4 separate regions of the Homo sapiens genome follow, and regions 2, 3 and 4 are each linked to region 1. The links are contacts of gene promoters, found by promoter capture Hi-C in blood cells and fetal thymus (Javierre and others, 2016). All regions are on one chromosome and are shown on one strand. The core of a region is centred on a gene start or on the middle of the fragment in contact, and the rest is flanking DNA. Distances in the headings are between cores, read along the strand shown.

Region 1 (2,530 bases), core at 24-2,523:
GGGCACAATGACAATAGGACTTAGGGGGAGGGACTGAAAAGTGTTTACATCTGAGAAATCTGGAGAAGCGAAATTGTTCATAGCTAAAGTCGTGCCTTTTGTGCCAAGGGCATCATTTGGGGGGACACTCCCTGCTGTAGGTGCCAAGGTGCCTAGATCAAGACTTCAAGCAGAGGAAGCAGAATATGGTTGTTTTGGGTTCACTTTAATGACCTCAAGTGCCTTCTACAAGCCCAAGTCATAAGACTAAAGAAGAAAGTTGTCTGTCAGAGAGTAGAAAGCCCTCAGCTAGGGGATGCTCCTTAGCTCCTTCTCTCAGGAACCATGGTGGAGCTCCAGGAAGACACAGAGTTCTAACAAGGGTTAGGAATGATTCCTTGGAGCAATGTTCCCCTATCTCCCAAGCAAGCCTCCCCCCACCAATCTAACCCCACATTTCCCCAAAGCCACCACTCATCCTGATAAACACCACACAAGAGAACACAGGGCCCTACCTTGATTCTCCTCTGAAAAAAAGCAAGAAGGTTGCTTCAGGGAGACCAACCAGCCTGGTTGGCCTGGAACTGACATATCCCAGCAAATTCCTCAGTCCCAGGCAAACCATAATGGCTGGTCACCCTAAGTCACTCTCCCATGAGTTGACAATTTCTTAGAGCAACAACTCTCCATTGCCTCAACTTGATGCACACACTCACACATGCACTCACACACAAATCACTCTGTAATAGGTGGAGGCAGGAAACTGCCTGTTTTTCTCCAGTAACAGCAACCCTGACAAAAATAGGCTTGAATGACTAAGGCCAAGTTTATGGCCACCCATAGGCCACAGAGGAACTCACTGCCTGAACTTTCTTCCTGTCCTGGGGGGATCTCGGGAAGAAAGGAAGGAAGGGCTTAGTCACACCCTGGGAGTGGCAGCCAGGAGCAGTGCTGCTCAGCTCCTGACAGAGTAAACTCAAAGGCTCTTTCTTCAGGAAAAAATAGATGCTTCCAGGCTTTGCTCCCTTTTTACAGAGCCAGCATGACAAACACTTACCCAGGGAGGAAGGAGAGGCAGCCAGAAAGCACAATCATCTCCCCATCTTTGGGAGAAAAGTTTCTCCAACCCAGCAGGTCCCTGAGCCTCTACTGGACCATCCACTTTGGCCAAGCCACAGGCCAAGGGCCCCCTGGGAAACTCACCTGGGCCCCGGGTCAGACTCCGCTCCCTGGGGATGCAGAAGCAGCCACCCATGTGTGTACCATCCTACCCTGGCCGAGGCCCTTGGGAACACAGGCCAGAAGAGTGCTGCAAGGGACAGCCTCCCAACGGTGTCCCTCCTCCCGCCTCCTCCCTGGCACACGAGGGACCGAGGCCTGCTCAATGCACAATGCAGCCTTTGATATCCCGGCTACAGCAGGAGGCCCAGGGAGGGTGGGAGGGGCAGCCCAGCCCAGCCTGCAGGCCCACAGCTCCTGCACTGTCAGGCCTGGGGAACAGGGCTCCTCCCTGCCTCTCAGCAGATCGCTTCATGCCTATCAGCCTGCAGCACATTCCTCGCATTCTAGGATTGAGATACACAGTTTGGTTCTTGTGAGGGCAGCCAGGGCTGGGGAGGAGGGCAGAGAACATCCCAGAGATCAAGACTGCTCTTCTTGCTCCCTCCCCGACTGACTTGGCCCACACTGACTGGCCTGCCACCCCTTTACAGTGATCTCCACCCAGTCTCTCTCTGCAAAGGCCTCCCTTGGCTCTCTGATAAAGTTGGAGCTGTGGGTGCAGCATTTCACTTGGACCTAGCAGCATCAATGAGCCAGCTCCTCACTGGGGAACATGCAAACCCCCAGCTGCTGGTGTGCAGGAAAAGAATCCAGGAGATCACCTGATGAAGCCCAGCATTTTACAGGTGAGGGGATGGAGAACCAAATACATCAAAGGATGGGGAGAGGTTGGTCAATAGGTAAAAGGTTAGAGTTACATAGGAGGAGTAAGTTCTAGTGTTCTATTGCACAGTAGGGGGACTACAGTTAATAACGTATTGTATATTTCAACATAGAAGAGAGGATTTTGAATGTTCTCACCACAAAAAAACAATGATGTTTGAGATGATGGATATGATAATTACCTTGATTTGTTCATTACACAATACATAGATATATTGAAACATCACATTCTAGCCCATAAATGTGTAGAATTATTATGTGTCAATTAAAAATAAAACTAAAAGAAAAAATACAGCAAGTCTACAGGTATGCAAGCAAAACTGGTCCCACAAGACTAACCTCTTTCCTGTTTCAGATAGGCAGTGGAGCAGGGGAATCCAGTTGACACTGTGGCTAAATTTCAGAAAACCTCCCATGAGATCTTGCAAAGGAGATGGAGAAAATATGGCTGAATGCCAGCAAGGTAGGACGGAAGCATGACTGCTCTAACAACCAAGCTCAAAGAGCACTGCTCACCCAATGTTTCCTTCATGACTAGAGCAAAGTGGTGAAAGGACCCTGGTGAGAGGCCCAAAGAACAGGAGGTGTGAGCCAAGAGAAGGTCCTG
Region 2 (2,530 bases), core at 22-2,521, 390 kb before region 1:
TGAGGAGAGAGTTAAAGAGCAGAGAAACTGAAGGCAGCACCTGAAGTTGGAGAGGCAGGTGGGAAAAAAGCAGGAAAAGAGGGAATTTGAATGTTCCTGGAAATTATGTTGCACCTTCCTGTTGCTGAGACATACTTACGAAAGATTTGGGTTATTTTGAAATAGCTGTAGATTGCTAGACTGTGTTCTTTTGATGAAAACACCATTTCTGGACCAACCATGTGGACTACAGCATTATCATTATCCCTATTGGTTTCAGAGATGCCACTAAGCCACGTGGTCAAGCTTACTCCCTTTCAGACTGGTACATCTCTTCCCCCATAATCCTCACCCCGCACCCTAAGAAAATCTCTTACATGGGACTATTGGATGCATCCCAAAGGTGGCTATTTGACCCCTTTTACTTGGGAAAACCCAGGATGACAAATGTGTGGGAATTTTTTCTTCCACAGTTCACAGTTTTCTTTAGCTGGGCCCATATCCATCCTTCCCACATGGACATAAGCAGTGGACGACTGTGTATTTTACTTTTCTGAAGTTTAATTCCTCTCATTTTTTTTCTTTTGTGTTTTAAATCTCCTTTATGCTTTTGAATTGAAATAGGAAGATAATTGACCTAGATTGCTTTCCACTCTTCCCTCCCCTCTCTCATCTGCTGACTCGGGACAAACTTCAAACACAATTTAGGCACTGTCTCTACAGTTTCTAAAAGCTTTCCTGACCTCTTTCCTTAATTCCATAAAATCTGCGCAAAGCTCATCACCTCACTTATTGCACTGTATTAAAACGATGCATTCATGTGGCCACCTCTCCTTCATGGTAAGCACCGTATCTCCTTCACCTCCTTCTCCATAACACAGCACAGCCTCTGAAATGAAGCCAGTCTTCAGCAAGTGCTTTGATGAACAGTAAATTTTGAAGCAGCTCTTGAAGACTCCCTTGAGGTCCATTTTCTTTTGCTGAAGCCCAAAGAGGTGGGGAATATAGGGAAAGTCCTTCTCTAGGTTCCCATGGGAACTGAAATAAATGCAGCAACAATTAGAGGAGAAATGAATGCACTAAAAATATCATTTTACAAAGTAAAGGAATGTTACTATTTCAAGTGCTCAATTATACCTGCTGCCCTTTCTTTGCCATAGGAGAATGTTTAAAACAGCTTACAAAATTATGGTTCTTTGTTAATTAAAAAGCTTATTCACCAATCCTAATAATACTATATATATATAGATGTATGTGTATGTATATATACAGATATAAAATATCGTCTAGATCTATGATTTTCTTTCTTCCTTTTATTTATTCATTCAGCCAATCTTTACTGCATGCCAACAATAATGTGCTAGACACCATGCTAAGCTTCAGGGACACAACAGTGACTAAAAGAGCCAAGATAGTCTTTCTTCATGGAGTACACAGTCTAACAGGGTAAATAGACAACTTGAAAAGCAAGCAAACAAATAAATATAGTCTTACAAATTGTTCAAGTGACATGCAGGAACTAGCAAGGTGCTATTATGGAGACTAACGGAGGGGTCGTTGGGTTGGGCATCACTCAGTAAGAGGCACCTAATGTTAGACCCAGAGGAAGAGAAGGGACTGGTCTACAAAGAGCTGGAGGTAAACTGTTCCAGCCCAAAGGAAGTGCAGGTGCAACGACTTCAAGAAAAAGGGAATCAGGAGCTTGAAGAATGGAAAGAAGGCTCGTGTGGCTGCAGCAGAGCTGAACAGGAGGAGATTGACTATGTATGACAGAGAAAATTTAGATTTTGCTCAAAGGGCAATGGGAAGTCACTGAAGCATTTTAAGGAGGGATGTGCTATAATCCCATTTCAAAAGATCACTGCAGTTACTCCAAGATAACAGTTTTGGAAGGTGAATAAAAAACGTGAAAGCTAACTATGAGATTTTCAAGCAGTGAAGCAAGAGATGATAATGGTTTAAATAAGGATGGTGGTAGTAGAGACTGGACAATATGAATGTGGCTGAGAAATATTTTGAAAGCAGACACACCAAAATTTATTTGAAAATTTGAATTCTAGAATTCTATGACAGAATAAAAGCAAGCTCAACCCTATTTTATTCTGTGATAAAGTCAGTGTTTCAAATAAAGTTGAACTTGCTTTTTCAAGAAGGTAAAAAATATTGATTTTGAGGAAACTCTGAGAGACCTAAGCAGAACAACTAAAGAGATAGCTGGATGTTCACTTGCTCTCTCCCCTCTCCTTTCCTTTCTCCTTCTTTCCTCCCTCCACCACTTGCTTTCTCTTCTGCACACATCCTTGGGCCCTCCTCATTCTCAGGCAACCTCCACCTTGCTCTGTGGTGGGCTCTGTCTTCATCCTGTCTCTTTCCCATGTTGCCTACCCTTTGCTTATAACTGTCACTATGTATCTGGCTTCTGCCTCTCCTGCAAGCAAAAACAATGACTTTATCATAAAATAATGTCCTTCTATGGATTTCCTTCAACCCACCCTTCCAAACTACTCATGTGTTTATAACTACATGAACCATCCCCTGGGCTAATAAGTTG
Region 3 (2,530 bases), core at 20-2,519, 340 kb before region 1:
TCTGATGGTTTAAAAGTATGTGACACTTCCTCCTTCACTCTCTGTCTCTCCTGCTCTGCCATGTGAAGAAGGTGCTTGCTTTCCCTTCACCTTCTGCCTCTCCTGCTCTGCCATGTGAAGAAGGTGCTTGCTTCCCCTTCACCTTCTGCCATGATTGTAAATTTCCCAAGGCCTCCCAGTCATGCTTCCTGTTAAGCCTGCAGAACTATGAGTCAATTAAACCTCTTTTTTTCATAAATTACCCAATCTTAGGTAGTTCTTTATAGCAGTGTGAGAACAGACTAAAACAAATGAAGAGACCTTACTGGAAAAATGGCATCTCCGCAAACTTGAACCGCAATCTTAAGTGAATCAAAGGATACATTGGTTCTGTTTCTGGCTCCCTGAAAACAACATCTGTTAGAGCCAAGAGAAGGCAAAAAGTAGGTGACAGGATCGCAGGATGCTGTATTTTGCTGATGGAAGTAGTTTCTGGGTAAGATCTAAGCCACAAATGCTACATAGTAAGCCACTAAAGGATGGCAGAGAAAAGGTTTTCTAATCCCTGGTGTGAAAAGGATCTCAGCAATTTTGCTTCATTACTTCTGGATGATGGTACAAAATTTAGTGGAGATGAAATGCTTTCATGAACTTAACTCCCTGGTAGTTTCTAAACTTCTTAGCTCCAGAATCACAAAGGGTACAGGAAACGAGCATTGACTGAATACCTGCTAAGCTTCTATCTACTGGGCATTTTTCTTACACTAAACTCAGAAAATTGCCTAGTCTTCTCCTATCCATCTCTTCCCTACACTGCCTCCAACCCCAAATAATCTGTCATTATCTCCCTAAGGCAGAAAGATTTTGAAAATGGCCAATGGCTAGATAGTTGCACAACAAGTATCATTTGTTTTGTTATTGTTGTTGTTGTTGACACAAATTTAGAATCCCACTGTGGCCTTCTGCTTCCCCTGTTGGGGTGCTGTCCTATTTATATTTAACTCATGAAGCAACCCACCTTTAATATGGTACAGAACATATAGTAGCTAACAAAAATCCAACTAGAAGAATAATAGATTAGACAGGGCTCTTGGACAAGGAACACCAGTCCCTTTTGCTTCAGAGTAATTGCAGGTGAACCTGCAGGAAGAAGCCTAGGAAAGTTAGTATTTCCGCTACGCTAATAAAGATTTTAAAAAGTTTTCTCCCTTTGCATCTACTTTTTGTCATTGCTGGGTACCATGTGGCAAATAACGATTTATTAATATTCTTCCAGATAAAATGATCTCTGTACTCTATTAAGTCATCTAGCACCCCAAAAGGCCCATGACCACTGGGGTAGGTGTGTATTTCACTTATTTTTGTAACTTATTATTGACTTAAGGATTATTAAGACATACTGTCAAAAAGTGCTGTGTGGCAAAAGCTGATAATTACCAATTTCATGCCCATTTTCCCTTCCTCCTTCAGAATAGAAACCTAGTTTTGTCAGGGATATCGGTGTGCACTGATACAAAATTACTTTTTTCAGCCTCATTTTAAGATAGCAGTGGCCAGGTAACTAAGTTCTGGATAAGGCTTTCAGGAAGGGTAAGAGGCTCTTTTTTGTTTTTCCATATTTCCTCCCTCTTCCTGCCCGGAATAAAGACTTGATATCTGGAGCTACTTTGTCTGTCTTGCTCCTTGAAGTTGGAAGTCACATGTTAATGACGACAGAATAAAAAGATAGCAGTCTAGGACATAGGTGGTATCCTAGAACCACTTCTACAACTATAGAAAGTCAACCTACAGACTACCTGTATATGAGAAAAAACAAACCTTCATCTTGTTAAACCGTATTGGTTCAAGCTTTCCTTATTAGCCCCCAAATGTATTTCCTAATTGCATCATTCTCTGTGTGGCTAAATAAGAACAGAACAAAAAATATTCAATCAAGGTATGAAAAAAAGAACAAAACATTTAAATTCTATGACTGTCAAGGAAGCGTTCATTAAGTGTGAGGAAGGGATTACTAGGTGGCGGTCATGGGAGAGCTATGATGTCCAAGTTGGCTACAGGAGAAGGGTTTTTATAAAAGAAAACTCTAAGAATCCAAGATATTTTATCTGTGGTTTCAAACACTTCACCCTTTGTGCAATTATAAAACTGCATTATTCATTAACATTGAATTTGTTTAGTCTGTAGGAGAAATGACTGATCATTGTAAAGTGTTTCTGGGATACTTTGGAATCTATTTAATGAAAAATCAAATGAGACAGGATAACAAGTTTAAGTTCATTTGAGTCAACATCAATGCCAGTTACTCCAGAAGCAGGAAAAGAGACCAGCAGAGAGGAAGGTAATAGAAAGCTCTTGGCGCTGCTTTCCAAATTACCTCTAATCCACTAACGGGCTGGAGACATCTTACAAATGCTAATTAATTAAGCCCCCTACCAGTCAAATGATGACTGTAGGAAGACGCCTCTGTGATACAGGTCTGGACTTTAAGAGAACACAGGGGGCTAGTAATGGACATGTAGTTAAGCAGGCAGTTGTTGAAGTCCTGTAAGGT
Region 4 (2,530 bases), core at 20-2,519, 310 kb before region 1:
GGTTCAGATGAAATCATTGATTTTCCCATCTTGGAGCAATTACATTTCCTTTTTTATTTTTATTTATTTATATATTTTTCGAGACGGAGTTTCACTCTTGTTGCCCAGGCTGGAGTACAATGGCATGAACTTGGCTCACTGCAACCTCTGCCTCCCCAGTTCAAGCAATTTGCCTGCCTCAGCCTCCCGAGTAGCTGGGATTACAGGCATGCACCACCATATCTGGCTAATTTTGTATTATTAGTAGAGATGGAGTTTCACCATGTTGGCCAGGCTGGTCTTGAACTCCCAACCTCAGGTGATCCACTCACCTCAGCCTCCCAAAGTGCTGAGATTACAGGCGTGAGCCACGGCACTGGGCCTACATTTCCTTTTTTTTTTTTTTTTTTTTTTTTGAGATGGAGTCTTCCTCTGTCGCCCAGGCTGGAGTGCAGTGGTGCAATCTTGGCTCACTGCAAGCTCCGCCTCCCGGGTTCACACCATTCTCCTGCCTCAGCCTCCCGAGTAGCTGGGACTACAGACGCCCACCACCATGCCTGGCTAATTTTTTGTATTTTCAGTAGAGAAGGGGTTTCACCGTGTTAGCCAGGATGGTCTCGATCTCCTGACCTCATGATCCGCCCACCTCGGCCTCCCAAACTGCTGTGATTACAGGCATGAGCCACCGCGCCCAGCCTTTTTTTTTTTTTTTTTTCTGACATTAACTTGAGCTGGGTTTATAGGCGTCTAAAACCGAAGAGTGATTCAAAATGGTTACGGTGTCCATGGCCCCATAACTTCACTTTACTTATGAGTGACATAGCTCTCTAGCTGTTATTTGGCATCACCTTTCTGCATTCGTGTGTGTTGTCGATTGGTAACTTTCCTCCATATTTTGGGGAGAAAAGTGAGAGGGTGGAAATGTTTCCAACTTCTTTTTTTGCCTCTAAAAATTTCTGGCCACTAGCCAGCCAGTGGATTCCACGCTCATGGTTCAAGTGCACACCCCCTTCCTGCCCCAACCCACAGTGGCCAGAATGCGAGGCCAGAGTGCAGAGATGGGGAAAGGCCAATGGGTGATAAGGCACAGGATATAGCCACTTGAGCAGCAGAAGCTTAGAAACGTCAGCTCCCTTAGAAAGAGGCTGTAGGCACAGTAAATCTTTCTATAGCACTAGTGCTTCTCAGTGCAGCCTCAGATATCCACAAATTCTTAGGCATCCTATGATAATGCTACAATTTTGCATTTGAATTTATCATTCAAATGTTTCTCATGCTTGGGTTACCTGCATGACTACCTTATGAGATTTCAGTGTTTGTATTTGTTGTATTTGCAAACAAATTGTATCCAAGTAATAGTACTCAGTTGTCATGAGTTAATGAAGAAAAAGGAGGCAATCTTAATGAAAAAGTGATACACTTGCATCATGTGAAAGTCAGATGACATCATGGATCTTCGTGGGACTAAAGCTTTGCAACAATGCCCACAGAGAAAGTGTGATGAAAGAACTGAGGCTCAAGAGTGAATAGACAAGTCAAACTCCAAAGAACCTCGCTAGACTAGATGTGAGCAGAGAATTCCTTTTAGCCATGTGAGATTATCCATCACAATTAATTTGGCCACTTAAATTTTAGTTGTTTTATAATTTTATTCATAGTACATTTAACTAAAAAGTTATTTTGCTACTTTGGTTATATACAACTATAAAATGAATGATTTATTCCTACTTTTATGTTTGTGTATGTGTAAATAACATTATAATAAAAGGGACATATCAATGATGGGGACTATGAGAAATTTCTTTTTTCTTAAAGGGGCTGGTCAGTGTCTCAGACTTGAAAACCACAGTGGTATAGTGTCTCTCCCAGGACTACCTGCTTTCTTCTGGCTTTCTTCTTGTGGTTTGAACCTTATAATACTCTTCCTCTTTTAAGCCACTTTATTAAGGTAGGATTGACATGCAAAAAGCTACACATATTTAATATGTACAACTTGACGAGTTTGGAGATAAATATAAAGCAAAATTTTTCCCCTCTCCTCTTATATATTATTTGTATGTATGTGTGTGTGTATGTGATAAGCTCACTTCATATAACATCTACCCATTCAGCAAATTTTTAAGTATACTATACAGTATTGTTAACTATAAGCACTATGTCGTGCAGTAAACCTTTAGAACTTATTCATTATGTATCACCAAACCTTTGAAACTTTCAACTAACACCTTCTAATATGTCCTCTCCTCAGTCCCTGGCAACCACCATTCATTGTCTGCTTCTAAGAGTTTGACTATTTTATATTTGTTGTATAAATAGTGTCATGTTGTGTTTGTCATTCTGTGTCTGGCTTATAATACTTAGCATAATATCCTCCAAGTACATCCATATGTTTGCAAATGGCAGGATTTCCTTTCCATTTTAAGGCTGAATAATATCCCATTGTATACATACATCACATTTTCTTTTTTTTACATACATTTTTTATTATACTTTAAGTTCTGGGGTTCATGTGCAGAACGTGCAGGTTTGTTACATAAGTATACATGTGCCA

Evidence for each region. Contacts are between HindIII fragments. The CHiCAGO score rates a contact against its expected background, and 5 or more counts as called.
Region 2: a contact is called between a fragment that was not itself captured here and the fragment with the promoter of SH3TC2 in region 1, in 1 of 17 cell types (total B cells). The highest score is 5.9, in total B cells.
Region 3: a contact is called between a fragment that was not itself captured here and the fragment with the promoter of SH3TC2 in region 1, in 8 of 17 cell types (naive CD8 T cells, total B cells, total CD8 T cells and 5 more). The highest score is 9.0, in naive CD8 T cells.
Region 4: a fragment that was not itself captured here is called in contact with the fragment with the promoter of SH3TC2 in region 1 in 2 of 17 cell types (non-activated CD4 T cells and naive CD8 T cells); the score reaches 5.9 in non-activated CD4 T cells.

Annotation. Positions count from the first base shown.
Region 1 is chr5:149,061,789-149,064,318 of GRCh38, forward strand. SH3TC2 (SH3 domain and tetratricopeptide repeats 2) reads right to left here and starts at 1,274. Exons shown (of 17, transcript NM_024577.4): 1 at 1,183-1,274. The coding sequence starts at 1,234. MIR584 (microRNA 584) reads right to left here and starts at 621; the gene lies at 525-621. It overlaps SH3TC2-DT (SH3TC2 divergent transcript), which reads left to right and starts at 1,529. Exons shown (of 3, transcript NR_122044.1): 1 at 1,529-1,886; 2 at 2,462-2,530. RefSeq lists a silencer at 1,238-1,532. The HindIII fragment of the contact is 16,687 bases long and covers 1-2,530 here.
Region 2 is chr5:148,676,219-148,678,748 of GRCh38, forward strand. No RefSeq gene overlaps it. Among named protein-coding and RNA genes, the nearest start is that of HTR4, 23 kb to the left of the region's middle. The HindIII fragment of the contact is 166 bases long and covers 1,189-1,354 here.
Region 3 is chr5:148,717,415-148,719,944 of GRCh38, forward strand. No RefSeq gene overlaps it. Among named protein-coding and RNA genes, the nearest start is that of HTR4, 64 kb to the left of the region's middle. RefSeq lists an enhancer at 2,109-2,530. The HindIII fragment of the contact is 1,112 bases long and covers 714-1,825 here.
Region 4 is chr5:148,749,787-148,752,316 of GRCh38, forward strand. No RefSeq gene overlaps it. Among named protein-coding and RNA genes, the nearest start is that of ADRB2, 76 kb to the right of the region's middle. The HindIII fragment of the contact is 355 bases long and covers 1,093-1,447 here.